Linked DNA regions of Homo sapiens: regions 1, 3, 4 and 5 are each linked to region 2. The links are contacts of gene promoters, found by promoter capture Hi-C in blood cells and fetal thymus (Javierre and others, 2016). All regions are on one chromosome and are shown on one strand. The core of a region is centred on a gene start or on the middle of the fragment in contact, and the rest is flanking DNA. Distances in the headings are between cores, read along the strand shown.

Evidence for each region. Contacts are between HindIII fragments. The CHiCAGO score rates a contact against its expected background, and 5 or more counts as called.
Region 1: a contact is called between a fragment that was not itself captured here and the fragment with the promoter of ZAP70 in region 2, in 2 of 17 cell types (M1 macrophages and M2 macrophages). The highest score is 6.5, in M1 macrophages.
Region 3: a contact is called between a fragment that was not itself captured here and the fragment with the promoter of ZAP70 in region 2, in 5 of 17 cell types (M0 macrophages, M1 macrophages, erythroblasts and 2 more). The highest score is 7.6, in M0 macrophages.
Region 4: a contact is called between a fragment that was not itself captured here and the fragment with the promoter of ZAP70 in region 2, in 2 of 17 cell types (endothelial precursors and megakaryocytes). The highest score is 7.7, in endothelial precursors.
Region 5: a contact is called between a fragment that was not itself captured here and the fragment with the promoter of ZAP70 in region 2, in 2 of 17 cell types (M1 macrophages and M0 macrophages). The highest score is 7.0, in M1 macrophages.

The regions. Positions count from the first base shown.
Region 1 is chr2:98,312,656-98,315,355 of GRCh38, reverse strand. VWA3B (von Willebrand factor A domain containing 3B) reads right to left here. Exons shown (of 28, transcript NM_144992.5): 28 at 2,057-2,700. Among named protein-coding and RNA genes, the nearest start is that of CNGA3, 32 kb to the left of the region's middle. The HindIII fragment of the contact is 5,618 bases long and covers 1-2,700 here.
Region 2 is chr2:97,712,135-97,714,834 of GRCh38, reverse strand. It overlaps ZAP70 (zeta chain of T cell receptor associated protein kinase 70), which reads right to left and starts at 1,259. Exons shown (of 14, transcript NM_001079.4): 1 at 1,161-1,259; 2 at 841-919. RefSeq lists an enhancer at 478-1,451. The HindIII fragment of the contact is 8,251 bases long and covers 1-2,300 here.
Region 3 is chr2:98,342,266-98,344,965 of GRCh38, reverse strand. No RefSeq gene overlaps it. Among named protein-coding and RNA genes, the nearest start is that of CNGA3, 2.8 kb to the left of the region's middle. The HindIII fragment of the contact is 1,746 bases long and covers 494-2,239 here.
Region 4 is chr2:98,262,658-98,265,357 of GRCh38, reverse strand. All of the region lies in intron 21 of VWA3B (von Willebrand factor A domain containing 3B), which reads right to left. Among named protein-coding and RNA genes, the nearest start is that of CNGA3, 82 kb to the left of the region's middle. The HindIII fragment of the contact is 1,508 bases long and covers 501-2,008 here.
Region 5 is chr2:98,366,509-98,369,208 of GRCh38, reverse strand. All of the region lies in intron 1 of CNGA3 (cyclic nucleotide gated channel subunit alpha 3), which reads right to left. Among named protein-coding and RNA genes, the nearest start is that of CNGA3, 21 kb to the right of the region's middle. The HindIII fragment of the contact is 8,735 bases long and covers 1-2,700 here.

The DNA.
Region 1 (2,700 bases), core at 28-2,527, 600 kb before region 2:
GATACATAGGTATTATTATTATCATCACTATTATTATTGTGTGTGTCTGTGAGTGTGTTTAACAGATTGAACCCCTTTTATTACTTCTGGTATATGCTAAAAGTACAGATTTATTCAGCAAAAAAATCAAATGTGCAAATCATCTGAGGCAATGAATGCATCCAGGTGCATGTTCAAGGATTTATGAAAATGCATTAATGTACTATCGACATTACTCTATAAAGCCAATTATCTTTAAAGGAGATTTAAATGGTAAGAAAAGAAAGTCTTTCATATATATACCATCAGTTGCCATTTCTGGTACTTTTCATTGTCTGTGTCATTCCGGAGCTGATTCCAATTGGCTTCTCTTTTTTTTCTTTTTTTTTTTTTGAGATGGACTCTTGCTCCGGAGTAACCTCCTGGGTTCAAGCGATTCTTTTGCCTCAGCCTCTCCTCCCAAGTAACTGGGATTACAGGTGCAAGCCACCACACCCAGCTAATTTTTGTATTTTTAGTAGAGACAGGGTTTCACCATGTTGGCCAGGCTGGTCTTGAACTCCTGAGCTCAGGTGATCCACCCACCTCGGCCTCCCAAAGTGCTGGGATAACAGGCGTGAGCCACCAAGTCCGGCCAGCTTTTCTCTTTATTATGGGTTATTTTCTTGCTGTTTTTCATGCCTGTCTTTAGGCCAGTCTTTGATTGGATGTCAGACATTGTAAATTGTACCTTGTTGGATGATGGATATTTTTGTATCCCTATAAATATCCTTGATCTTTGTTCTGGGACACAGGTATTTGGAAACAGGTTTGATCCTTCCCAGGCTTGCTTTTCAGCTTTGTTAGGCTGGGACCACGGAAACATTTAGTCAAATGCCAGTTTTGCTCCACTATTGAGACAAACTCCTGAATACTTTATCCGATGCCCCATGAATAATATTTTCCACTTTGGTTGAAGGAAACAGGAAATATTCCCAGCCCTGTGTAAACCATAGGAATTGTTCCTTGTAATCACTTTGAGTGGTCCTTTCTCTGGTCTTCAGTAATTTCCTCACAGCCATGCACTTATTAGCTGAAGACTGAAGAGGGCCACTCCGCAGGTCTCCAGCGAGCTTTCTCTCTGTAGCTCTCTGCTCACCAGCCCTGACCCTGGTAAACTCCAGCTACCTTGGTGTCCTCAGAATTCCATTTCCATCTCCTCAGCTCACAGAGGCTGCCGGGCTGTGTTTGGGTTCCCCCTCCCTATGCTGCAGCCTGGAAATATCTCCAGGAAGCGACTGGGAAATGCACAGGGCTCATCACATTTATCTCTCAAAGAGCACTGTCCTTATCACCTGACGCCCAGTGTTTTGGAAACTGTTGTTACATATATTTTAGCAGGTGTGTTAGTTGTTTTGGTGGGAGTGTAATTCTAGTTGCTGCCATTCTGTATTGGTTGGAGGTGGAAGTTCACCGTTGTAATTGCAACTTCCTCCATTACACTGAAGTAGGCACTATCATTGAACACATCAAATGATGGCCTTGTGCACTGCAATGTAACACCAATGCAACTAGCATTGTATATATTTGCCCTGTAGTCATTTGTCTCTGCTCATACCCCACCACCAGACACCAGTGATTGTTCCAATGAGAAAGTGGAGACGAAGAGAGCGAGATGGGTACAGAGGGAAGATAACCACCTTCCAAGTCTGCTGGCATCTCTCTGGAGCCTGGCAGGCTGTCAGCACTCAAATTGCTTGTTGAATAATTGAATGAATGTACGCAGGCTCACATGCATGCACGTATGAATAAATGAACCAATGCCTATGACTGGGTGGTTTCTAAACTGCTCCACTAGTTCTCCAGACCAGACACCTTGCTTCCTTCAGACCCTCATACCCTTCCTTCCTTCCAGGACACAACTCTCATTAGCGGAGACTGCTCCAGAGCCTTCCTGCTGGGAGGAAACGTCTGAGTTCTGGGAGGTACTCTGCCTCCCACAAGCACTGTTCCTTGCCTTGTTTCAAACAATTCCCTCACTCTTCAGTTCCTTCCTCACTGCATTATTGTTTTTAGCCTGATGCTGAGCGCATGTCCCTTATTTTTTTTTTTTCATATTTTTAGAAGTGGATTAGTTCTTTAATTTCTTCACCATAACCCTGGCTACTCCTAGCTTTCAGGAATGTGAATGCCACTTTTAATTAGATTGTAAATTTTTAGAGTATCAGAACTCAGCCCTATCTGTTCTGTTTGCAAAAAGCATCCAATATTTTCCCTAGTGATGACCTGTGCTCTATTTTCATCTAGCCTCAGGGATCTTACCGACTAGAAAAACGAAATTTGATGGAGCGATTTCATTTTTGAAGTTAGTAAACACAACTGAATACTTTCATATGTCATTGCTAAAATGTGTTCAGAGAAAAATGGTAACAAATAATCCAACAATCCAATGGTTTTGAAATGTTTCCAATGTAAGAGTTTTTATTCTGGTTTCGGGCTCAATTAGAGTTACCTACAACAGACTATAGACAAAAATAATTAGGAAAGGCTAAATGAAAATGTCAGGAAACTATACAGTAGGGGATGTTCAGTCTTGCAGATCTCAGACAAGTTACCGAGTCTGAATTTCAGTCCTAATATTGGGTGACAAATTCTCTAATTTAGATGTGATAATTAATTTAAAACAAGATTGCGGGCTTGGATCCTGACTATGCTGACTGCTAAACAATTTGAAAGTCCTGT
Region 2 (2,700 bases), core at 10-2,509:
AGGTGTGAAGAGGAAAAGGAAGCTCTGGATTCAGCAGGAGGCAGCTTCACAGGTGGCACCTTAGGAGTCCCTGACCCTGATCTCTCAGCAAGGCATTATTAAACACCTCCTGTCTGCCTACTGTTCCAACCAAGACGAGAGTAATGAATCATCTCGAGCTGCTCACCTCATGAACTCCTGTTCCTTCCTGTCGGGGATGCTTCCTACCTGGGACACATTTCCCAGCCTCTCGCCAACAGTCAGGAACCAGGCGCCTGCCAGGTGCCCATATCTGCATGTGCATTTAACAGATGCACAAACTGAGGTCAGAGAGGCCAAGCAACTTGCCGAGAACACACAGCAGTTGAGGAGAACTCGGTGTTTTGCTCTTTCTCTCTCCAGGTCTTCCTCTAACCTGAGCTCGCCTACAAGTGGCTCAAGCCTGCCCTGGACTCCTCACAGGAATCACAGCATTCTGCTGATGGAGCTCACGGCCCTGGTGAGCAGCCCCCTCATCTTCACAGAGTGCACATGCGCTTTCTCTGGAGGTTTCTCTGCCTCCGAGAGCCAAGGATGCAGCCAAACAGGGCCCAGCAGGAGCCCAGGGACTGAGCAGGCCTCACCGTGTCCCCTGAACAGCCCCGCTCGGCCAAGCCTCTGGAGGGGGAGCTGCTTCCCTCAGCGTGGCCACAAGCCCCGTCTGCCTCCATCTCCAGCCAGTCACCACCCAGCCCAGTCCTCCAGCTCTCCTGGTCCTCCCAGCAACCTCCTGACTCCCAGTTAATATTCTGTCTTCCTCCTCCAGACACAGCCCACCATGGAGACGGTGGCCAGGTGCCACTCCACCCAGGCACCACTTACCTGGGGACGTACAGGTGGATGTCCAGGCAAACAGGCCACTTGCGGGGTCTCTGGTCCCAATGCCAATGGAGAGCCGGTTCTGGGTGAGGAATCGGGGCTTACAAAGCCGGTTTGGATTTCCCTGCAGCCCAAGCCCCCAGCCTGAGAGGGAGGCCCTGCCGCTCACACTCTCCGCACACACCCCGGGGGAGGATGTCACACCCCGCCAGGGTTTCTCACTCATGGATGGGGGGGGTTCATCCTCTGCCAGGTCTCCCAGAGCCCCCTGGGGTGGCCCTGGTGGCAGGACACAGGCAGAAGGCCCGAGGACAGCCGCTTACCTGAATGCCCCAGCAGCAGCTCTGAGGCCCACGGTGGGCCAGGCCTGCCCGGAAGGCCTGGTGTCTGCTGAGCTCCGGCAAGCAGGCTTGTCTGAAACTAACCTATTTCCTGGATGCGAAGACAGGAAAGGGGGCTGTGTTTGATGTTTACATCAAAGTCACAAAGTGCTGTGCTCAAGGAAAATCACAGGCCACGTGCTCCAGGGAGGCAGAGGGCATTTCCGGGGCCCAGCACTGCCTGCCCAGCTGCAGGATGGGACTGAGAGATGGGAATGAGGCTAAGCAAAGGCAGGGTTTCAGGAAGGACGACTCCAGCAGCAGGAACCGTCAGAAGGGAGGAAGCCTGCATACCTGGAACCGGAGGGTAGGCAGCAGTGGTGGGAAGGAGGGGAGTCCCAGGGCTCATGGAAACTGGAATGCCCCCATTTTCCCCTCAAAGGGGCGTCGCCCTGGGGCCTGCACCAGCTAGACAACCCAGAGGAGTGATTTGTTTATTCCACAGGCAGGTTAGAGCTGGAGGGAGGAGAAACCCACTGAGTCAGCCCATACCCCGAAGGTGAGAACCCCTTCTGTGCCAGGCATCTGGATGGCAAGGACAGCCTGCCCTTGCTCTCCAGTGGCTCGCAGGCTTGTTGGGGGCAGCTGAGTCCACAGGGAGCCAGGGCTGGGAGGCCGGAAGCCTGGGCACTGTGTGTCCCCAGAGTATCCCCAAGCCAGCCTGGAGGATGTCAGGGATGCGTTCCAGGAGGAGTCAGCCACCCAACCGAGACACAGAGCCAGGGCATCCCCAGTGCTAGCCCGGCCCACCTGGGACCTTTCCCACGAAGCTGAACCTGGCTGAGTGCCATCCCGCTGTGGCCACCACCTCCTCCTCCTCTTCCTCTCCTCCCTTCCCTCACCCTGTGCACCCCCTACCCTTGGGCCTGGGGCCACACCTCATGCACTCTCTCAGAGAGGGGCCTGCAGAGCCACTCCCTCGGCTCCATCTCCCCTCTAGTGCCCCAAGGCCTCTGGGAGCCCCTTGCCCACCACCTCCTTGCTTTCTTGGGCACTAAGGGAGTCGTCACAGCTCTCCTGTCTGTGGGGCCTCAGAGACCTGTGTGGAACTGCCCTGGGCCCACTGTGGAGACTCCTAAAGCTTTTCTTCTTGGGGTCCTGCTGCCCTTGTTAAGTGGGCTTGTGATACCCTACCTTGTTTTAACCTGAATTGACTCTCCCTTAGCTAAGAGAGCCAGACAGACTCCATCTTGGCTCTTTCATTTGCAGCCCCTTACCCACCCCGCTTCCTCAAGGACTTAATTTGTGCAAGCTGACTCCCAGCACATCCAAGAATGCAATTAACTGATAAGATACTGTGGCAAGCTATATCCGCAGTTCCCAGGAATTCGCCCGGTTAATAGCACCCAGAGCCCCGGCGTTTGTGTCCGGTTGATAACGCCCAAAGCCCCGTGTCTATCACCTTGTGATAGATTTTAAGCCCCTGCACCTGGAACTGTTTGCTTTCCCGTAACCATTTATCCTTTTAACTTTTTGCCTGCTT
Region 3 (2,700 bases), core at 117-2,616, 630 kb before region 2:
TTGTCCAGAAACATTTCAGAGTTTCAAAAGAATCTTAAATCCTGATTTTGGAGTAAATAGTAGTGATCATGAGATCATTTTAAGGCATCATCCTGAAAAATCCCCTTGGACTTTGTTTCTGAAATGCACATCATTCCTAAGATTTGAAGGGGAAAACAAGACCTCACAGAATTAATCAAGAAATGGAGAAGTGTCCTGAGTCTGATGAAATGAGATAGAGTGTTTAGCACAGAAATGGGCACATAGTTGGCCCCTAGGGAATGATGTATGTGGCAATAGTTATCATTGAAGAACTTTGGGTGTCTGAAAAGTGGAAACAGATGAAGAGACTGGAAATGAATGGAAAGAGACTGAAGGGGATGTATCTGTGAATTTGCCTGCAAAAGTCATCGAGCTGCAAGATCCTAGGCTGCCATGATGGAGGGTCCAGATTTGGCCCAATGCTCACTCAATGGAGTGGCCTCTGGGGACCTTTCCAATTATTGCTCAAGCTTCAACTGAGGCATGGTCGAGTGTGGAAGGGACAGCAAGATTTTGTGAAGATGCAGGATACAGCAACCTCTGAATAAATTAGTGGGATGCTCTAACAGGCCCATGGCACTAAGAGACCAAGGAGCGCGATTCTCAGAAACCCAAAGTCTTTTGGTGTTTGTTAGAATAGGGAGACCACAGGAAGAAGAGAGCTATGGAGAAAGCACCATCTCCTCTTTCTGACAGAGCAGGTGAGAGTGGGAGGAAGGGGGTGGGGGCCAGGTGAATGCTAAGTTGCTTCAGCCTCAGCCAGGACACTAAGGAAGTGGGGAGGGGTCTGTGGGGAAAAGAGTAGCACCCAGGAGCTGAGGAAGTCTGGAGCCAGGGAGCCTGATGAGACCAGTTCTATCCACCTGTGAATTCGGTGCCAGGAAATGAAAGGAAAATACCAGCCAAGCCCAGATGTATTGAGTCTGAGCGTAAGTGTGTACATGTGTGGCTCGGGGGACTCCTCAATGATGTTTAGTTGTGTTTTTGAAATTTAGAAACAATGTGATAGTCTATGTAGTCTCCTGGGATTTGCTTTTGTCAATGAATATTAGGTTAGTAAGATTTGGTGATGTTGCTTGTAGCTATAGTTCATTTAGTTTCACTGTGTAAATAATTTGTTATTTATTTATTCTGTATGCATATTGTACACATTGCTTTAAAAATAGGGGCGGGAAGAACTAAATTTTTGATTCTAATTTTGTAAAATCTTCCCAGTCCAAACAAATTTTAGATGTACTAGGGACCTGATATTTTATAGTCAGGGTTGAAAGGCACACAAATAGTGCCCATAGGTAGGCAACAGGACTGCTGTCTCTGCTGGGGGCCATATGGTGTCCAGTGTGTTAAAGAACACACAATCTCATAAGTAGATAAGCCAGACTAACCGACGATACACAGAAATGCAAACAGATAAACCCAGTTATCAGCAAGGAGGGATGTGTGAACTTGCTTTGGCAGATGGTCTAGATCCTTGGCAAATGATAAGGCAATTTGTAGGAATGGCTTTTGGGAAATAAAATATTTATGAGGAGACAGGCAAGGTTTACATGAGAAGCAAGATGCCTCAGTTTTCCCCGCAGGAATTCTGTCAGTCAGTGCAAAATTGCAGGATGGGGAGGCCCCAAGTTGGGGAAAAGCAGTTATTTTCTGTCTTTAAAGCCCACTTTGCCTGTTTCCTTCTCAGGCAATCAAGATGATGGCATCTATTTCTCTCACCTACCTGGCAGTTGGAAGAATAGAAGGAAAGTTAAATTAAATGAATGAACAAGATTTGAAGAGTTAGAAATTCTAACCAAATACCATTAAGAGCTTGAGGAGGACTGTGGGACCATAGGATCTAATCTATCTTGTCCCCTGGGGACTCCCTGTCTCTTTCAGGTCAGCTTTGCAAACAGTCGCTATAGGGGCTGCCCTTAAGACCCCAGTGCCAGCTTTCCACTCTCCAAATTTCTACTGTCTGACCATCAATGCCTGAAGTCCTACCATTGGAACGTCATCTCTCTATTTTCAAACTTGGATCCCTTTTAAAATGCCAATAACTCCATGAGATAGAGTGTGGATAAAGAATCAAATACAAAGTTTTGGTAGGAAAAATTGAGGAGCACATTTGAGGATCCTGCAGGCCAGTGAGCGTGGCATGGGATGGGCGCCATAGCAGGAGGTGGGTAAGATCAGGGGGAAAGGGCACAGGTGAGACTTTAAATACTGAGGGCAAGCTTGGCCCCGGTTACAACTGAGCCTAGTCCTGGCCCAGCGAAATCACTTGAGCTTTTCTCTAAGCCTAAAGCCTTCATTTTCCACCCACAAAAGAAGGACAATCACCTTTTCTAATTGCTAAGCTGGCAATCAGTGTGCTGGATGCAAGGCTGTTTTTGTGGATTGTGATGTGAACGGCATCAAAGTGCTCGCTAATAGGTGTGATATGCTCTGGGACTCAGTACTGCTCAGTTTGACATCATTATCACGGCCTTGGGTGAACATATGGAGTTTCCTGCATATTTTAATATGGATACGGAGTTATAGAATGTATAGCTAACATGCACTCAGAATATATGGTGACTAAGGAGTATAAATCAAAATCCAAAAAAATCTTGAGAGCCTTCAATGATGCACTAAATATACAGGCCAAGAAAAGACATAACAGGAACACATGTAAAGTTCTGTATCAGCGTCCAAAAA
Region 4 (2,700 bases), core at 5-2,504, 550 kb before region 2:
AGGGACATGGATGAAATTGGAAATCATCATTCTCAGTAAACTATCGCAAGAACAAAAAACCAAACACCGCATATTCTCACTCACAGGTGGGAATTGAACAATGAGAACACATGGACACAGGAAGGGGAACATCGCACTCTGGGGACTGTTGTGGGGTGGGGGGAGGCGGGAGGGATAGCATTGGGAGATACACCTAATGCTAGATGATGAGTTAGTGGGTGCAGCGCACCAGCATGGCACATGTATACATATGTAACTAACCTGTACAATGTGCACGTGTACCCTAAAACTTAAAGTATAATAATAAAAATAAAAAATAAAAAAATAGATTTTAAGTCATAAGTTGTTATATCAACTTATGACTTAATAAAAAAGACATTTTGTGTTCATGGATTGAAAGACTTAATTGTTAAAATGTCCATACTACCCAAATCCACTAAGAGGATATAACAATTATATGTGCACCTAGCATCAGAGCTCTCAGATACATAAAACAAGCTTTGACAGAACTGAAGAAATAGACAGCAACCCAGTATTAGCAGGAGACTTCATGCTCTGCTTTCAATAATGGACAGAACAACTACACAGAATATCAATAATGAAACAAAGGACTTGAACACCACCAATCAACTGGGCCTAACCAACATGTGGAGAACCCTCCACCAAACAACAGCAGAATACACATTCTTCTCAAGTACACATGGAATATTCTCCAGAATAGACTGAATGTTAGGCCACAAAACAAATATTTAAAAAAAGAAAGTTGAAAGCAAAGTATTTTTTCTGAACAAAATGAAATGAACCTAGAAATAATAACAAAAGGAAAACTGGAAAATCCACAAAAATATAAAAATTAAGTCACATATTCTTAAACAACCAATGTGTCAAAGAATAAATCACAAGGGAAATTAGAAGATATCTTGAGATAAATGAAGGAAAAATACAACATATCGAAATGTATGAGATGCAGTGAAAGCAGTACTGAGAAGGAAGTTTATAGTGGTAAACACATTTTAAAAGGAGGAAGGTCCCAAATTAACAATTTAACTTTACTTTTCAAGGAACTAGGAAAAGAACAAATGAAAGCCCAAGTTAGCAGAGGGAAGAAAATAATAAAGATTAGAAATAGAGTATAGAAAAACAATAGAAAAAAAATCAATGAAAGCAAGATTTGTTTTTTTTTGAAAAGACCTACAAAATTGACAAATTCTTAGCTAGACTAGCCAAGAAAAAAGAGAGAAGACTCAAATAACTAAAATCAGAAACAAAAGGGGAAACATTACAACTGATGACACAGAAATTAAAAGGATTATGAGACTACTAAGAGCAATATTACACCGACAAATTGCATAACCAAGAAGAAATGGATAAATTCCTAGAAACATACCGCCTACTAAGACTGAATCATGAATAAATTAAAAAACTGAATAGATCTATAACTAGTAAGGAGATCAAATCAATAATCAAAAACCTCCTAACAAATAAAAGCCCAGTACCACATGGCTTAACTGGAGAATTCTGCCAAACAATGAAATAATTAATAACAATTCTCTTCAAACCTCTTTCAAAAGATTGAAAAGGGAGAAATGCTCCTAACTCATTTTATGAGACAGAAATTACGCTGATATCATAACCAGACAGAGATACTACAAGGAAAAAGAAACTACAGACCAATGTCCCTGGTGAACAGTGATGCAAAAATCCTCAACAAAACAGTAGCAAACTGAATTAAACAGCATGTTAAAAAGATAATCACCATGAAAAAAATGGGCTTCATTCCTGGAATGCAAGGATGGTTCAACATATGAAAATTAATGTAATATACCACATTAACAAAATGAAGGACAAAACCCACATGATTATCTCAAGTGATGCAGAAAAATCATTTGACAAAAGTCAACATCCTTTCATGATAAAAACACTCAGCAAACTAGGAATACTAAGAAACTATATCAACATAAGGAAGCCTACAGCTACTATTGTACTTAATAATGAAAGATTGGAAGCTTTCCCTCTAAGATTAGGAATAAGGCAACAATGTCCACTCTTCTCCCTTTATTCAACATAGTACTGGAAGTCTTAGAGAAATTAGGCAAGAAAAAGAAAGGAGCAATATCCAAATTAGAAAAGAAGTAAAATTATCTGTTTGTAGAGGACATGATTTTCCATGTAGAAAACCCTAAAGATTCCACAAATACTGTTAGAACTAATAAATTCAGCAAACTTAAAGGATATAAAATCAATACACAAAATAAGTTGCATTTCTATACACTAACAATGAACAATCAGGTAAGGAATTAAGAGAATAATCCCATCTACAATAGCACCAAAAAGAACAAATTAGGAATAATTTTAAGGAAGTGAGAGACTTGTACACTGAAAACTACAAAACATTGCTGAAAGAAATTAAAGAAGACACAAATAAATAAAAAAGACATTTTGTGTTCATGGATTGAAAGACTTAATTGTTAAAATGTCCATACTACCTAAAGTGATGTACAATTCTATGCAATCCCTATCAAAATCCCAATGGTATTTTTTGTATAAGTACAAAAAGATCCTAAAATTTATATGGAATTTCAACAGATCCTGAATAGCCAAAACAATCTTGAGAAAGAAGAACAGAGTTGGAGGCCTCATACTTCCAGATATCAAAACACATTACAAAGCTACAATAATCAAAACACTGTAGTGTAATCA
Region 5 (2,700 bases), core at 69-2,568, 650 kb before region 2:
TAACCTCTAAATTGTCCTTATTCATTCCTGGGCGTAGGCCGAACTAGCCTTGGGAAGGAATTTAATTTATAATTTAAATTAAAGCCCTTTCCCAAAGCTAAACTGTTTTTGTAAAACAACTAAAAGCCCAACAGCCACCAAGTTAGAATGAGAGGGGCTGGAATTCTAAATATTATCAGCCATTATTCCAGAGGTCGTAAGATTCGCAACTTCCCCAGTTACTGTTAAAGGCAACGTCACTATTGTGAGCCTAAGATCGGCCTTTTGAGATGTCTTTTCAGGTTTTCACATTTCTAACAACCGGATGGCCACACCTTGACCTACCAACCAGTTCTGTGGCCTCCACCCAGTAACTGACTCAGCATAAGAGAACAGAGTCAACTCCCTGTGATTTCATCCCTAAGCCAGCCAATCAGCACTTCCGATTCACTGGCCCCCTACCCAACAAATTATCCTTAAAAACCCTGATCCCTGAGTTTTGGGAAGAGTGATTTGAGTAATAATAAAACTCTGGTCTCCTGCACAGCCAGCTCTGTGTGAATTACTTTTTCTCTGTTGCAATTCCCCTGTCTTGATAAGTTGGCTCTGTCTAGGCAGTGGGGAAGGTGAACCCCTTGGGCAGTTACACTTGTGCCAGAAATCAGGTCATGAACATTTTCTCTTTGGCAAACATTGGAAGGTGCCCCTGTGATTGAAAAGAAAGCCTATGTGAGAGCAGGGCTGGTGTGATTGGCCAGTTCCATGATTTTTGGATAAGTCTTTCACTGGAAGATGCATTTCTGAGGATGGTTTCTCTAAAATAGATTAGCACAGGCTCTCTTGAGCAGCCACATCGTTTAAGTGTGTCAGATGTCAGTGGAGACCACTCCGGAGAAAGATGGCAATTTCTAGAAATAGCCCAGGGACTCACTCCAGGACTCAGTTAATTCCAAATCCAAAGGAAGGTCAGAGACAGGAGCCATTGGTGTGGCCATGCACATTTGGCCAACCCTCTGCCAGTTACAAAAGGGCAGCCATCGGCTCAGCAGGGTCCTGACTTGTCTCTGATGTTTGATAGTTTAAGTCTATGAGTTTAAATATTCTGGTTTTCTCAATAGATCAAACATTGTTTTGATTTTTAAACACTTTATTCACTTATGTAACAATGAGTGAGTTTCTGGCTGATCATAGGAGCTATAAAGAGAAATAAAACGAAGCCTGTTCTCAAGGATCTGACAGTGCAGTGGGGCAGGTGCTACAACAGGCTTTGCAGGTTGTGCCCAGGAGCTTGGGCCTTACCCTAAAGCCCAGTAGGAATGTGGTCAGGTGTGTACAGGCCACTCTGGCTAGACCAGGGAGGATGTATTCAGGGAACATGAGTTCCCTGTGAGGTGAGCAGCTAAAAAATTGCCACAGTTTCTTAGGGGAGAGAGAACAACTGCCTGAACTAGCTTTGTGGTAGTGATAGCAAGTGGGTAGAGTTGCCAGGACATGGCAATTTAGGTATAAGGGGTGGGGAGGAAGAGGTGCTGAACACAGTGCCCCAACAGCTGGGGTGATGGGGGGTGTTGCCTGCCCATTGAGACAGGGAACTAGGGGGGAAGCACGTTAGAGAAAGAGAATGATTCCAGTTTGAGATGCCTGCAAAACTTTAGGACCAACATAAGAAATTGTACTCATTAAAAGTAATAAATCCGGGGAGGGACCAAGATGGCTGACTAGAAACAGCTGAGGTCAGCCGGGCGGGGTAGCTCACGCCCGTAATCCCCGCACTTTGGGAGGCCGAAGCGGCTGGATCACAAGGTTAGGAGATTGAGACCATCCTGGCTAACATGGTGAAACTCTGTCTCTACTAAAAACACAAAAAATTAGCCGGGCGTGGTGGTGGGTGCCTGTAGTCCCAGCTACTCGGGAGGCTGAGGCAGGAGAATGGTGTGAACCCGGGAGGCGGAGCTTGCGGTGAGCCGAGATCGCGCCACTGCACTCCTGCCCTCCAGCCTGGGGGACACAGTGAGACTCTGTCTCAATAAAAAAAAAAAAAAAAGAAAAAAAAGAAAAAAAACAGCTGATGTCAGAGGTTCTCACCAAGGAGAATGAAAATGGTGAGTGAATCCTGCACCAGCAACTGAGGTGTCCAGGTTCTCTCAGTGGGACTGACTAGGCAGTCCCAAGGAGAGTGAGGACAAGCAGGGTGGAGCGCCTGCCCACCTGGGAGCGGCACAGGGCAAGGGGACCTCTCATTCTCAGCCAAAAGAGGCGGTGAGTGATTGTGCTACCCTACCCAGGAAACCACGCTTTTTCCATGGATCTGTGCTATCCACAGATCAGGCGATTCCCTCGTGAGCCCACACCACCAGGGCCTTGGGTCTCAAGCACAGAGCTGTGCAGATTCTTGGCGGCCTCTACACTGGAGACTGCCTAAGACTACCGAGCTCCTGGGGAAAGGGGTGGCCGCCATCACTGGAGTTCCAGTCTGCCATTTTCCCCTGCTGGAGTCGTGGAGACTGGGCAGTTTGGGCCCAGGAGGAATTCCCCACAGTGCACCATAGCGGCTGTGGCAGATCGTGGCCAGACTGCCTCTTTAGGCTAAACCCAGACCCATCCCTCCTCACCAGGCAGGGCCTCCCCGCTGGAATTTCAGCAACCCCAGCCAGGGGCTGGATGTCCCTGGGATGGAGCCCCTTGCGGGGAGGGGCTGCTGTGGTATCCACTGAATAGTGG